2 separate regions of the Homo sapiens genome follow, and region 1 is linked to region 2. The links are contacts of gene promoters, found by promoter capture Hi-C in blood cells and fetal thymus (Javierre and others, 2016). All regions are on one chromosome and are shown on one strand. Each heading gives the region's core, a stretch centred on a gene start or on the middle of the fragment in contact. The rest is flanking DNA. Distances are from core to core; before and after follow the strand shown.

What was found. The method cuts DNA at HindIII sites, captures the fragments that hold promoters and counts their contacts. A CHiCAGO score of 5 or more calls a contact.
Region 1: a contact is called between a fragment that was not itself captured here and the fragment with the promoter of PRRC2B in region 2, in 1 of 17 cell types (naive CD8 T cells). The highest score is 5.3, in naive CD8 T cells.

What each region holds. Positions count from the first base shown.
Region 1 is chr9:131,173,313-131,180,719 of GRCh38, forward strand. NUP214 (nucleoporin 214) reads left to right here. Exons shown (of 36, transcript NM_005085.4): 22 at 743-1,006; 23 at 2,148-2,309; 24 at 4,999-5,098. Among named protein-coding and RNA genes, the nearest start is that of NUP214, 51 kb to the left of the region's middle. The HindIII fragment of the contact is 2,659 bases long and covers 350-3,008 here.
Region 2 is chr9:131,389,323-131,396,952 of GRCh38, forward strand. It overlaps PRRC2B (proline rich coiled-coil 2B), which reads left to right and starts at 4,764. Exons shown (of 32, transcript NM_013318.4): 1 at 4,764-4,941. RefSeq lists enhancers at 3,988-4,137, 5,264-6,025, 6,788-7,549 and silencers at 4,608-4,797, 4,828-4,937, 5,168-5,457. The HindIII fragment of the contact is 10,669 bases long and covers 3,724-7,630 here.

The DNA.
Region 1 (7,407 bases), core at 429-2,928, 220 kb before region 2:
CCCAAAGTGCTGGGATTACAGGCTTGAGCCACTGCACCCAGCCTTTTTTTTTTTTTTTTTTTTTTTTGAGACAGAGTTTCACTCTGTTACCCTATTTTTTGTAGAGACAGGGTCTCACTATGTTGCCTAAGCTGGTCTTGAACTCCTGGCTTCAAGCAGTCCTCCTGCCTCAATCTCCCAAAGTGCTGGGATTATAGGCCTGACCCACTGCACCCAGTCTCTTGTATTTTTTTTTTTTAAACCTAATTGTCTGAATCAGAAGAATCATTAGATTTATCTGGAAATGTTCGAGACACTCAGGACCGAGGACATTCTTTCTAATCCATTTTGCGTTGGACCTGTTCTTAGAAGCTTATCATTGGAAGGTGACAGTAATGGTGTGATTGTTCACCCCACCATGGAAACTTGCCTGTTACATTTCTAGTATATTATTATTATACTAGTGAGGGCTCCAGGCTTCTACTTTGACACCAGCATTAATTCTGTCTCTTACTTTTTCACATTCTTTTAACAGCCCCAAGATGTTCTCGTTCACACACCTCAGTTTCTCAAATCCCCATCTGAGCAAAGACCCAAAACCATTTTTGTTCACATTTGACAATACCTGCTCCCACTTAAAATAAGTAATAATTAAATCATTTTACAAGTTGAGTATTTTTTTTTTTTATCAACAGTGAAAATTACTTAGCTTTTGGGCTTGCTTTGAGTTGTCTAAATTGTGTTTTGTTTGGGGCTTTTGTAGCCAGCCTGTCTCGATCAGCCTTTCTGTCTCAGAGATATTATGAAGACTTGGATGAAGTCAGCTCAACGTCATCTGTCTCCCAGTCTCTGGAGAGTGAAGATGCACGGACGTCCTGTAAAGATGACGAGGCAGTGGTTCAGGCCCCTCGGCACGCCCCCGTGGTTCGCACTCCTTCCATCCAGCCCAGTCTCTTGCCCCATGCAGCACCTTTTGCTAAATCTCACCTGGTTCATGGTTCTTCACCTGGTGTGATGGGAACTTCAGGTAAGTAAACAGTGGGAAAGGAAACTGTTTTTCCCTATGATGTTTCTAACTAATGACGGAATTGTAACTGGGTCTTATACTGTCACACCAATATGGTGGTTGGCTCCAGCCCACTTTTTTTTTTTTTTCTTTTTTTCTTTTTTTTTTTGAGGTGGAGTCTCACTCTGTTGCCCAGGCTGGAGTGTAATGGCGCGATCTAGGCTCACTGCAACATCCACCTCCTGGGTTCAAATGATTCTCCTGCCTCACCCTCCCAAGTAGCTGGGATTACAGGCGTGCACCACCACGCCTGGCTAATTTTTGTATTTTTAGTGGAGACGGGGTTTCACCATGTTGTGTTGGCCAGGCTGGTCTCAAACTCCTGACCTCAGGTGATCCACCTGCCTTGGCCTCCCAGAGTGGTAGGATTACAGGCATGAGCCACTGCACCTGGCTGCTCAACTCACTTCTGCTTATATTCTAGAAATTAGAAGACTGATTGAAAAGATGTGTGTTCCCCTTGAAAGCAGTTGCTAGGCCATTGTGAGGAAGGAGATGGCTCTCCAAGTTTATGCGCTATAACAGTTTTTCTGCTGAGCCAGCTTGTTTTTTAAAACAGATCTTTTTCAGAAGTAAAAGGGGGCTGTTTGCTTCAGTTATAAAGCAACATCCACACTCATATCTTTTAAATCCTGGCTCATTTCAGCCTGACTTGTGGCATATTCTGCCTCAGAACTCACCAGCTCTGATGCTTGTGGTCAGTATTGGCTCACTGTACTGACAGGTGTTGTGCCCCCACACTTTCAGTACAGTGTCAGGGCTTTGCATCAAAGTGACTTCCAGCAGAGAAAAATACCAGTGTTAGGTACTAGAATGAAGAGAATTTGTGAGAGGGGATCAGGGAATTGGTCTATGTTGGTATAAAAGTTGTATCTCAATCAGTATCAGGAAATGATGATGTATCTTAGTAGAGGTGGGTAGGCAAATTTCATGCGATAACTGAAAGATATAGATGCCAGCCTGTTAGTTTACTGGTACTTTTCTATGTTAACGCTAATTTTAGCATTTTCCCTGCAGTCGAACATAAAGAATTTACCAATTTAACCTTTTGTATTTTCCTGTTCTCTCACCCACTCACACTTAATTTTTCTTTTCCTCTTAGTGGCTACATCTGCTAGCAAAATTATTCCTCAAGGGGCCGATAGCACAATGCTTGCCACGAAAACCGTGAAACATGGTGCACCTAGTCCTTCCCACCCCATCTCAGCCCCGCAGGCAGCTGCCGCAGCAGCACTCAGGCGGCAGATGGCCAGTCAGGCACCAGGTAAAAGCTGTAGCCCCATACCTGTACAGAGGCTGATTATGAGCTGTCTGAGTCACAGGCCAGGACAGCAGGTGGCAAGAAACAGTGGGCGCTCTTTGGTGCCCTTCAGAAGAGAAGATTGATGTGACAGCCCTCTCCCCTTTGTGGAGAGAGTTCTAAGAAAGCAGAGACTAGGTCTGAAAATCTTTGCTTTTAAGGGGAGGGATTAGAACTGCCACATTTAGTTAAGGTGGAAATCAGTGGGGTTTGTTTTTTTTTTTAAACAAAATTGCTAATCCTACTTTTGAATAATGTCTGCTTAGAGCCCTAAAATTATAACCTTTGAAATTCGATCATCGAATAACACTAGCGTCATCTCTTAGTATCTTACAGATTGCAGCTACCCCAAGAGGTAGGTATTTGAATGGCTATTTTGGCTGGGCATAGTGACTCATGCCTGTAATCCCAGCACTTTGGGAGGCTGAGGTGGGAGGATCACTTGAGGCCAGGAGTTTGAGACCACCCTAGGCAACATAGTGAGACCTCATCTCTAAAACAAAACAAACACAAACAAACAAAAAGAATGACCATTTTGTGTTTGAGTAATCTGAAGTTCAGAGAGGTGAAGGTTATCCCACCAATAAGTAGCAGAACCCAGACTCTAACCCTCTGCTCTTTTTCAGTTGAGCATTTTTTCTTCTCCAACTATATCTTGCATGAAGCTTTTTTTTTTTTTCTTTTGAGACAGGGTCTCACTGTGTTGCCTAGGCTGAAGGACACTGGTGCGATCACGGCTCGCTGCAGCCTCCGTGATCTCCCGAACCCAGGTGACCTTCCCACCTCAGCCTCCTGGATAGCTAGGACTACAGGCATGCACCACTACACCAGGCAAATATTTAAAAAATTTTTGTAGAGACAGGATTTCACCATGTTATCCAAGCTGGTCTCAAACTCCTGGGCTCAAGTGATCCACCCGCCTCTACCTCCCAAAGTGCTGGGATTATAGGCATGAGCCACTGCTCCTGACCAAAGCTTTTTTTTTAACATTGTAAAATTTAACTTTTACAGAAGGAAGCGCTAATAAGTCAGTTAGCACTTAACATTTCGTCAGTGGCTTGTCATTATCCCAAACTTTCTACTACTTTCTACGTTAATGTACATTGTACATTAGGATTTTACAGTCTGCGTAGTTGGTCTCAAGGACTTCAGTTATCACTAGTTATCAGTTTTATAAGCTAGTAGTTCTCAACTAGAGGCTGCCCCCACTTCCCTGTCCTCCACCCCTGAAACAGTTGGCAGTGTTGCTGGCATTTAGTGGGTAGAGGCCAGGAATGCTGCAAAAAAAAAATCTTTAAAATGCATAAGACACCCCCACAACAAAGGGTTATCTAGCCCCAAAATGTCAGTAGTGCCAGGGTCAAGAAACAGATATAAGCCAAATATTTTCATTTTAGCTGAGTAAAATTATTTTTTAGATGTATCACTGCTTACAACACTTATCAATTTAGAGTTTTTTTTAAAGACTAAAAAGACATAATAGTTTGATTTAGGAAAAAAGAACTAACATTAAACAGTGATAAGTCAAAAGATTGTAAAGAAAAATTCAAATATTAAAACCTTTATTAAGACATCTAACATATATATTGAAGAACAAAACAAAGATAACTTTTGAGGTACCTTTGGGCTTTCTAAAAATAGAATTCTTTGATCTCTTTAAATATTACTTGGACCAGGTAGAATCTTGCCATTGTGCTGAACAGGCCTGAAATCAAGTTGATCAAGTCAATGATCTGTAAAACGTTAAAATCTATTAGGATTGAGGATTGTTCCACTCAGCAGAAGGTGGTGTGATCTGTATTATCATGTTGGATGCAAAAATTTCTAAGGTATAGGCACCTTTGAATATGAAATATGAAAGATGTGCAGTCGTGGGCAAGATGTTCTGGTCACTTCTTTGAAAGAGGGAATAAAAGAGAATTAACTACAGGTCTGTCATTCTGCTTGTGATAACCACTTTCACCTTGGCCAGTGATGCAGTTAGTAATGAGCCACAAGCTTTGCTCAGGCTTCCTTAATTGCTAATTATAGAATGTCATTAAGTCTTTTGGGATACAATTTACAATTATAAGACGAAAGCTGATGAGGAGGTGTCAGATATATGCCTCTTAGTCTCTTCTCCCATTATTGTCCAAGCTCCATTTTCCACATTTTATTCATTATGCCTTTCTGTCTCACTAGGCCATGAGTTTCTTTAGAGAAGAAACTATAGATACATTTTGTATTCGCAGCCCCTAACACAGAGCCTGGCACATAATAAGCCCATGTTAAAGAAAGACAGTGAATGAGTGGCAGAAATCCTGAGTCTAGATGCTGTTAATCCTCTAGCTCAAGCTGCCCTTTTCCAGGACAGACCAGCAGTGTGGCAGGTGTCTCAGCTCTGTGTAGAAAAGCTGGCCAGAGAATTCTTTTCCCCTACTCTAGTACATTCGATTCAGTTACAGGAAGCCTTGTTCCATCACCTGTGTTAATGGAGTAGGCCAGGTGTTCCTTTGAACACAATGCTGCAAGAACTACCTAGAGTAGATTTCCTTCACATGATAAGGCTCTAATCTGCTTGGGCTCATGTCTTGGTTTTTCATTTATATGTGGCTAGAACTTTTTATCCTTTGCTGGAATTAATATGGTGTTCTCTCTTCTCTGTTTAAATTAGCTGTAAACACTTTGACTGAATCAACGTTGAAGAATGTCCCTCAAGTGGTAAATGTGCAGGAATTGAAGAATAACCCTGCAACCCCTTCTACAGCCATGGGGTATGTTCTGACTGCAGTGTGTTTCAGCCCCTGGCTGCTTCTGTAGTAGCGGTGGACTGCCTGCAGGGAGCAGCAGTGCCACTGTCACAGTCTGGTTTTCCTGCACCGCCTTAGGTTATAAGGGGGGTGGCGGCTAAGCCTGCCTACACAATGCATTTTCAGGAGACTGTCCTTTTTAACTGGCCGGTGACAGTTGCCTCACAAACTTTTAAAGTTTGTCTTGATGCTGTATGCTCAGTTTCTGTTTGCCATGTGTAAGTCTCTGTGTGGTACACATTAGGTGTGCAGGTTGATTTTTTTTTTTTTTTTAATGCCCTAGGGGTTCCAGAGTTGATGCTTTGGGTCTCATGCAGACTTGATTCTGGAAACTGTAATCTCAAGGGTGACACTCTCCTCCCTCACTTCCCTTCTCCAGGCATTTCTGTTCTTCCCATTTCTTTTGCTTTTGTATAAAAGACAGCACCTCTGTTTGGAGACTTTAGCTTCTCTGCCATGCCATGTTTGAGGGCTGGATTGTTGCTGGTGGAGCTCACTTGTTTTTTTGGTGGTGGTGGTGGTTTTGTTGTTGTTGTTGTTGTTGTTTTTTGTTTTTTGTTTTTTCTTAGACAAGGTCTCACTCTTGCCCAGACTGGAGTGCAGAGTGCAGTACGATCATGGCACACTGTAGCCTTAACCTTCTGGGCCCAAGCCATGCTCCCATATCTGCCTCCCAAGTAGCTGCTGGGACTACAGGCACATGACACCACACCCAGCTAATTTTTTAATTTTTTGTAGAGATGGAGTTTTTGCCATGTCACCCCAGGCTGGTCTCAAATTTCTGGGCTCAAGTGATCCTCTCACCTCATCCTCACAAAGTGCTGTGATTATAGGCAGGAGCCACTGTGCCCAGCCTAGCTCATTTGTCTTTAGTCCTCATCTGTGTTCGGAATTCAGGGTGCTGACTCCCTCCCGCTGCCCTGGGCAGGTTCGCAGAACATGCCTGTGCCCTGCTTTGCCCTGCATATTTTGTGACTGTGATCCCTTTAGACCAACCACCATCCCCTGTGGCAAAGGGAAGAGTTGAGGGACATTTCCTCACTTGGAACATGGGGATCTTGAGGACTAGTATCAGATTTCAGGGAGTTAGTGTCTGGTACCCATGATTAGTCTAGCAGCAAGAAGGGCAGCCATAGACCTTGTGGTTCTCCACAGCGTGCCCACCCTCTGCCATTGCACAGAGCAGATCTGCCCACGGTTCTGTTTTCCCTCTCTCAAGTGGCCCTGCCTCACTGGTCCGCTGGCCTCTTTTTTTCCATGTTGTTCTGTTTATCAACACTGCTTGTTTGAGGAATTTTTAGTTATCTCAGGGCCATACTAACAGCCAAAAAACAAGCCTTCTCTATTACTATTTTGTAGTGACCTCGGAGCCTTGGTATGCTGTTTAGACCAAGATGGTATTTGTGGTTGTTGCAAGCTTTTCAAGGGAAAGAACTATGCATTAGAGTTTGGGAATTGTAGCCAGATTCCCAGCATAGGGAAGGCAAGGCAGAATGTTACATAAGATGGGAAAACTCAGCATATGGTACAGGAAGTATTGTCTAGTGTTTCTGAGATATATTAGGTGCTAACCATGTATGAGAAGCACCTTTTGGAGATTCCACTTCTCCTTTTCTCAAGCTTCATTTCCCTAAATGGTTCATCTGAGCTGATCTTTGATGAAGGGTTTGTTCAAGGAGTAATTTTGAGTCTACTCTTTCTGACAAAAAATCTCAGACAACTTAAGAAATCTTGAAGAAACTTTCTGTTCCATTCTCCACAGAATTAGACTCTGGTATAATTATTTCATGTGTATGCCCAGCATGGTGCCTGAAATGTAGAAGCATTCCTTTCAATAATCATTTATTGAATAATAGGTAAACTCTACTCCAAACATAAATTGAAAAGTGAAAATTGGTGTTTACTGCCACCCCTCCCCAGGAAAGATCGAGAGAATATGTTCATTGTAAAATGACTTGCTTTCAGATTCTTTTATGTTTTATTTTTAAAATTATTTTCAGCCAGCTCTCGTGGAACAGATTCTTTTAAACAGTAGTTTCCTAAGTGTATTTTAAGTATTTAATTTTGCAGTTAGCTTTTTCTCAGTGGTATCTACAGAAGATTCATCATAGGATGAGCTTACATATTTCTGCCATTGGTGTACTTTATGTTCATTGGCCTCATCCATTCAGTTCGTTGGAAGAGTGTTTATCTGGCGCCAACCCACAGCTATTCAAATTCCTTTGCAGTGCTCCATCGCTTGATTCAGCAGATTCTTACACAGCGTCTGCTGT
Region 2 (7,630 bases), core at 3,514-6,013:
GTTTTTGTATTTTTAGTAGAGATGGGGTTTCTCCATGTTGGTCAGGCTGGTCTCACACTCCCAACCTCAGGCAATCCGCCCACCTTGGCCTCCCAAAGTGCTAGGATCACATGCATGAGCCACTGTGCCTGGCTGGGCAAGTCACTGAACTTTCTGATGCTCTATTTTCTCGACTGTTAAGTGCAGGTATTCAAAACACCAGGTATGTTTTCTTCCTCTGACACCTTGCTGGATGCTTTGTCCCCATAGTGGTGACAGTAGGGGAAGGGAGGCTGGGCACCCACCTCCAGGCTTGCTGAGGTTTGGAGGCTTTAGTGCATGTGCTTATTTGGCTGGTTTTGTGAGCCGTGTGTTTTGTGTGGTTGGTCAGGAGCCATGATTTTGGCCTCAGTTGTCCAGGCATCCACTTTTCAACCACCATGGAGATTGAGTGCTTACTTTGTGCCAAGCTCTCTTCTCTGCTTGGGGATCCCAGCTGGAGAGACACCACAGTGCTCCCCACCCAATTTTCGCAGGTAGAAACTCTTAGGCACCAAAAGGCTAGCTCTGCTGGTTGGAGACAGAACCAGAACTAAAACCTCGGAACATGGTTGTTTTTTTTTTTGTTTTTTTTTTTTTTGAGATGGAGTCCTGTTTTGTCGCCAAGCTGGAGTGCAGTGGCGATCTTGGCTCACTGCAACCTCCAACTCTTGGGTTCAAGCGATTCTCCTGCCTCAGCCTCCCGAGCGATTACAGGTGCCCGCCACCACGCCTGGCTAGTTTTTGTATTTTTGGTAGAGACAGGGTTTCACCGTGTTGGCCAGGATGGTCTTGATCTCCTGACCTCGTGGTCCTCCCGCCTTGGCTTCCCAAAGTGCTGGGATTACAGGCGTGAGCCACTGCGTCTGGCCTGTGTTTGTTTTATTGACTGTAGTGGCCCTTCTCTGCCCAGTTCAACAGCATGGCCCCAGAGCCTGGCACAGTGAGCACCAGAGTGCAGGTGCCCAGTGAATGAACGGACGAACTTTGATTCCCAGGGCTCTCCTCTGGGCTAAGCACTTTGCAGGGATGGATGACTGCATGCCATTCTCTCCATGAGGATGGTCAGGGAGGTAGGAGATGGCTGAGCTGGATTTGAAGCCAGGTCTCTTCTCTCCCAAGACTCCTAGCTTGCCTTTTTTTTTTTTTTTTTTTTTTTTGAGACAGAGTCTTGCTCTGTCGCCCAGGCTGGAGTGCAGTGGTGTGATCTCAGCTCAGTGCAAGCTCTGCCTCCCAGGTTCATGCCATTGTCCTGCCTCAGCCTCCCGAGTAGCTGGGACTATAGGCGCCCGCCACCACGCCTGGCTAATTTTTTGTATTTTTAGTAGAGATGGGGTTTCACCATGTTAGCCAGGATGGTCTCGATCTCTTGACCTCGTGACCCACCTGCCTCGGCCTCCCAAAGTGCTGGGATTACAGGCGTGAGCCACTGTGCCCTAGCTTTTTTTTTTTTTTTTTTTTTTTGATACAGAGTCTCGCTCTGTCGCCCAGGCTATAGTGCAATGGTGCAATCTCGGCTCACTGCAACCTCCACCTCCCAGGTTCAAGCAGTTCTCCTGCCTCAGCTTCTTGAGTAGCTGGGATTACAGGCACATACCACCAGGCCTGGCTAATTTTTGTATTTTTAGTAGAGACAGGGTTTCACCATGTTGGTCAGGCTGGTCTCGAACGCCTGACCAAGTGATCTGCCCACCTCAGCCTCCCAAAGTCCTGGGATTACAGGCTTGAGCCACTGTGTCTGGCCCTAGCTTGCCTTTTAACCCTTCCCTCGCTGTGTTGCCTTCAGCAAGTCTCCAAGGTTGTACTAGTTTTCTATTGCTACATTACCACACATTTAGTGGCTTATGTAACTTTGTTATCTTAAAGTTCTGGAGGTCACGGTGGTTGGCAGGGCTCATTTTCTTCTGGAGGCTTTAGGGGAGAATCCATTCCTTGTCCTTTGTAGCTTCTAGAGGCAGCCTGCATTTCTGGGCGTGAGGTCCTGCGTCATTCCTTTGTCAGTCAATATGATGAACTCCGCTTCATCAACCACATCTTCTCCGACTCCGACCCTCCTTCCTTCCTCTTGTGAGGACCCTTGTGATTCCACCTGCCCAACCAAATAATCCAGGATTCATCTCTGCATCTCAAGATCCTTAACTTCATCCCATCTACAGAATCCCTTTTGCCAGAGAAGGTACCATTTTCACAGATTTCAGGGATCAGGACTTGGACATCTTTGGTGGGGGGCATTGTATTGCCTCCACAAAGTCTACTTTTCTTCTCTGTTGGATGGGCACACTAGTGTCTGTTTTATGGGTATGTCGTGAGGATTACCTGAGTGACTCTATAGGGAGTGTTTAGCACAGTGGCTGTCACATAGTAAGTGCTCAGTAAACCACCCTGTTACTGTTCAGCCTCCTCCTATCATTTTGTTTTGAGACAGAGTCTCTCTCTGTTGCCCAGGCTGGAGTGAAGTGGCGTGCTCTTGGCTCACTGCAACCTCCACCTCCTGGGTTCAAGTGATTCTTGTGCCTCAGCCTCCCGAGTAGCTGGGATTACAGGACCCCACCACCATGCCCGGCTAATTTTTGTATTTTTAGTAGAGACGGGGTTTCACCATGTTGGCCAGACTGGTCTCAAACTCCTGACCTCAGGTGATCTGCCTGCCTCGGCCTCCCAAAGTGGTGGGATTACAGGGGTGAGCCACCACGCTTGGCCTTACAAATAAAGAATCTGAGGCTTCAGATAGTTTATTTCTTTTTTGCTTGTTTATTTTCTTTCTTTTTTTTTTTTTGAGATGGAGTCTCACTCTGTCACCCAGGCTGGAGTGCAGTGGCATGATCTCGGCTCAGTGCAACCTCCGCCACCCGGGTTTGAGCAATTCTTCTGCCTCAGCCTCCCAAGTAGCTGGGATTACAGGCGACTGCCACCATGCCTGGCTAATTTTTGTATTTTTAGTAGAGATGGGGTTTCACCATATTGGTCAGGCTGGTCTTGAACTCCTGACCGCATGATCCACCTGCCTCGACCTACCAAAGTGGTGGGATTACAGGTGTTAGCCACTGCGCCAGCCTTACAGATGAAGAACCTGAGGCTCAGTTTATTTATTTAATTTATTTTTTATTTGTTTATTTGCCTTCTATCATTTTTATTAGTTGCTGGGTTTTGAGCACTGGGCCAATTCTATGGCCTTCCTGAAGATGGTCAAGGAACAAAATCGAAAACAAAAATTAGGGTTACATCCTCCCTGTTTTGTAGAGATAGCGAAATATTGAAGACATTGGCAGGGGAATAATGCAGATTTGATGATGTAAAACAGAGTGGCCGGCACTGTAATCCCAACACTTTGGGAGGCCAAGGTAGGTGGATCACTTTAGCGCAGGAGTTCCAGACCAACTTGGCCAACATGGTGAAATCCCATCTCTACCAAAAATACAAAAATTAGCTGGGCATGGTGGCAGATGTCTGTAATCCCAGCTACTCAGGAGGCTGGGGCAGGAGAATCGCTTGAATCTAGGAGTTGGAGGTTGCAGTGAGCAGAGATTGCGGATTGTGCCACTGCACTCCAGCCTGGGGGACAGAGCGAGACTGTCTCAAAAAAAAAAAAAAAGAAAAAAGAAAAAAAGGATAACACTGAAAATGACCATGGATAAAATGTAGGAAAATTCAGAGAATTATAAATAAGGCTATAAAAGTATCCAGAATTCTACTCCCCAAAAACTAAGCTTTGTTCACCAGCCTCAGTTCTGGAGTTAGGCTGAAGTGGGTTAATTTTCCTTCTGGGTCCAGCAGTGTGGCCTGGGGCACATTCTCTCAAAGCCTCCTTTGTCTCACCTGTGAATTAGAACAATAATATCTGCCCCTGGGTTAGGATTAAGTGAGACAAACCACGTGCTTTAGCATAGGGCATGGCCCGCAGCTGGTGCTTAGAGCAACCGTGACTGGAAGAGGGTGGGATGATTTGGGTGCCAGGCCCTAACATTTTTTTTTTGTATTTGCTTTTTGAAATTGCTTTTATAGTTGGTTAGGTGTCTAAAAAAGTAAGAACCCTCCTCCGCTCTCCCAACCTCAAACCACGGAGGTAACCAAGACAGGAGTGCAGTCTCCCGGACCTTTTGTTTTGCAATCACACAAACACACAACACTCAAGAGGAGGGGCTTATTAGTTTTCATTTTGTAAAAATGGGACAAAGTACCCATATTGTGCAACAACCTTGCTTTTGAAATGAAAAAAGTATTATTTCTGCTTCCTTTCCGTTCATATACCGTATACATATTTTAACAAAATCCGGGCTTAGTCTGTTCTGAGGCGCTGCAGTTTTGAAGGGGGAGGGGGCGGAGATCCGGGCTCGCTCCCCCGTCACTGCCCCCTCCATCCCTTCCCCCTCTTTCCGGGCGCCCTTCCCCCGGGCCCAGGCCGGGCCCATGCCCTTCCCAGGCCCCTTCTCTTGGCTCCTGGCCCCTCCTCCGGGTCTCCTCCCCGATCCCCGCTCTGCCCCGTTCTCTCCCGCCTCTCCCGCCGTCCCCGGGCCCCTCCCCACTCCCAGCCCCCTCCCAGCCCCCTCCCGCCGCTCCCCGCCCCTCCCCCCTGGCCCCAGCCCTCGCCCGGCCCCCGGGCCGATCCCAAGGCCGCCGCTCCCGGGAGGCGCGGCAGGGGGCGCTGCGCGGGCCCAGGTTGCGGGCGGCGGCGGGAGGAGGAGGACGAGGAGGCGGGGGCGGCGGCAGGCGGGGGGCGGGGAGCCGAGCGCGAGGGAGCGAGCGGCGAGACAGGCGCCGAGGCTCCACCGCGCAGCGACGAGCGAGCCCGGGAGGAGGGAGGGAGCGAGCGAGCGAGCAGCCCGCGCCGCCGCCTCGCAATCCGCCGCCATCCCGCCGCCCCCGTGCCCGACCGCCGCCCGACTGCCATCGCCCGGCCCGGCCGCGCCCGCGGAACCAGACCAGGTGGGTCGGGGCCGGGGCCGGGGCCGGGGCGTGGGGGCGGCGGCGCTAAGATGGAGGCGGCGCGGCCCGGCCGGGCTTTGTCTCCCGCGGCCGCCGCCGGGGGCCCGGGGGCCCTGCGGCCCTGCCCGACCTTTGTCCGCGAGCGCGGCCGCCGCCGCCTCCTTCCCGCCGGGCGCGGGGCTGCGGGGCTGGGAGGCCGCGGGGCCTGGGGGCGGCGGGCCCGGGCGCGCTCGCCATTGTTGTGGCGGCGCCGCGCGGCCTCAGGCTCGGGCGGGGTCCAGGGGCCGCGCGACTCCCTCAGGGCTCGCCCGCCACCCCCGTACCCCCGAGGCCGGGCCGGGCTGCAGAGGCCGGAGGGGCGGGGGTCCCGGGCCCGCAGCCGGGTCTCGGGGTTCTGGGGCCGGCGTCTTTGCTCCCCGCCCCGCCCAATTGACGGAGCAGCGCGCCCGAGGCGGGATCCTGCGGGGTCGGGCCTTGGGTCCGGGGCGCTGAGCGGCGTTCGCGGGGCCGTTCCTGGCGCGGGGTGGGCCGGGCCCCGGCGGCGCTAAAGTTGGCGGCTGGGGGAGGGAGGCGAGCGGCCGCCCAGTCTCGGTGTGAGTGCGGGAACCAGAGGGTTATTTTCGAAATGCTGAATGCTCCATGCTAAAAATGTTTAATAATAAACAGGATGTCGCCACTCGGGGCCTGCCAGATGGGGTTTTTTTTTTTTTCCTCCTCTTTTGCCTCCCCTCAACCCCCAGGAGAGAAATTCAGCCCTGTTGAAACTGTGGGCCTCTGAAGAGTGGATTTGCCTTAAGAGGTGGATTTTTTTCCTTTTTCTTTTTTCCTCCTTCTAAATATCGTGGGAGGTCGGAGCCCACCTTTAGGCAAGAATTGGAGGTGTTTTCAGTGGTGAGCTTGAAGGAAGTGGGAGAAGGGGGGCTGGGGAGTGTCTTTTGCTAAATGGCTTCCTGGGAGAAATCTTTAAATGCCTTTGGTTTACAGGACTGTTAAACTTTCCCTAAGATTTTTTTTTTCTTTAAGGTTTAGTGTGCATTTGATGTGGCTTTGTACAGTGTCATCCAGTTTGGTTTTTGTAACCAATTGTGTGCGGTCTTAGCATGGTTTTTCCGAATCTCGCTGCAGCCATTTAGTCATGTCTATGCACAGCGCTGTGGTGTAAGGTGGGACTGGGGAGGCCCAGGCATTGGGGTGCAGATCCTGCTTCTTTCTTCCGTAAACCTAGTGACTCTGGGGCTGTCTGAGGCTTCATCTGCATAAATCGGGGCGTGCACCCTCCACCTGGCAGGTTTGGGCAGCGGTGAAGGGCCTAGCAGAGGGCCTGGCACAGTTAGTGGTTCCTCCTACGGTTGTTGGTATAACTGCTGTCAAGTCCTAGGACAGACGTGAGCCCCTTGTGGTGCCACCCATAGAGCCAAACTGTGCCCATGGATGCCACAGGTGCTGGCCTAAGGCATGGACAATACAGAAGGAATTCAAGGCCCAAACATTAGTGGGCGCTTATACAGTGCTGAGCCTCTCGGGAGGCAGGGATGGGAAAAAGTAGCATTTGGAGGTCTCTAGAACTTAGTAGACCCGGAGTGTGTGGCAGTTGGTCAGTTTAAGGCAGGGTTAGAACAGTACGAGATGCTCAGGACAAACAGACGCCCAAGGAGTCCTGCCTTCTGAGGATAACTGCTTTCCTTGGGGATTGGCAGATAATCATCTGAGAGTGAGTTTCTACTTGTTTGGGCAAGTGTGTCTCTTGGAGCCTGCGCAGCTGGATTCTGGTCCTCATCGGGTTACCTTTACAAAGCAAGTCTCTGAGGCTCAGATCTTGCATCTGTAAAATGGGAATAATTATGCCTGCCTTGGGTATCTATTAGGGCTCTTGGGAGCCTCACTTAAGATTCACAGTGAATTGTTTTCTCTCCATAGGAAGGTGATGAAATGTATGTGTTTGTTGATTATCTGTTTTTCTGGTTCCTTTCTCCTTCCTTCCTCCCTTGCCCTCTTCCTCTCTCCCTCCCTCCCTTTCCCTTCCTTTTCCTTCCTTCCCTTCCTTCTTTTTTCTTTTCTTTTCTTTTTTTTTTTTTTTTTTTTGAGACAGTCTCACTCTGTCGCCCAGGCTGGAGTGCAGTGATGTGATCTCAGCTCACTGCAACCTCCGCCTCCTGGGTTCAAGCGATTCTCGTGCCTCAGCCTCTGGAGTAGCTGGGATTACAGGCATGTGCCACCACACCTGGCCAATTTTTGTGTTTTTAGTAGAGACAGGGTTTCACCATGTTGGCCAGGCTAGTCTCAGACATCCGACTTCAGGTGATTTGCCTGCCTTGGCCTCCCAAAGTGCTGGGATTACAGGCCTGAGCTACCGCGCCCGGTCTTCTTTCTCTTAATGCTTATTTTTTCCTCTTCTCTTGGTTGATGGAACTGTGACTTCCCCACCCCAAATTCTATGGCCGGCTAATGTTTTGCTATGGTGACTATCACCCATCTACCTGGAAGCACCAGAATGGCTTAGTACAGCTAGGGAGCTCAGCCAGATCTCGGTGTCTGCTGTTTGAGATTGTGTGGAAGGACTATTGCTAAGAAGCAGGAGACAGACTGAACCCAGTGTTGGCCACAAGTGAGGACTGAGACCCAGGTCACCTCTTGGCTGAACATGTTAGCTTGTTGGTAAATGGCTCTGCAGTGGTTCTGCATTTTATTG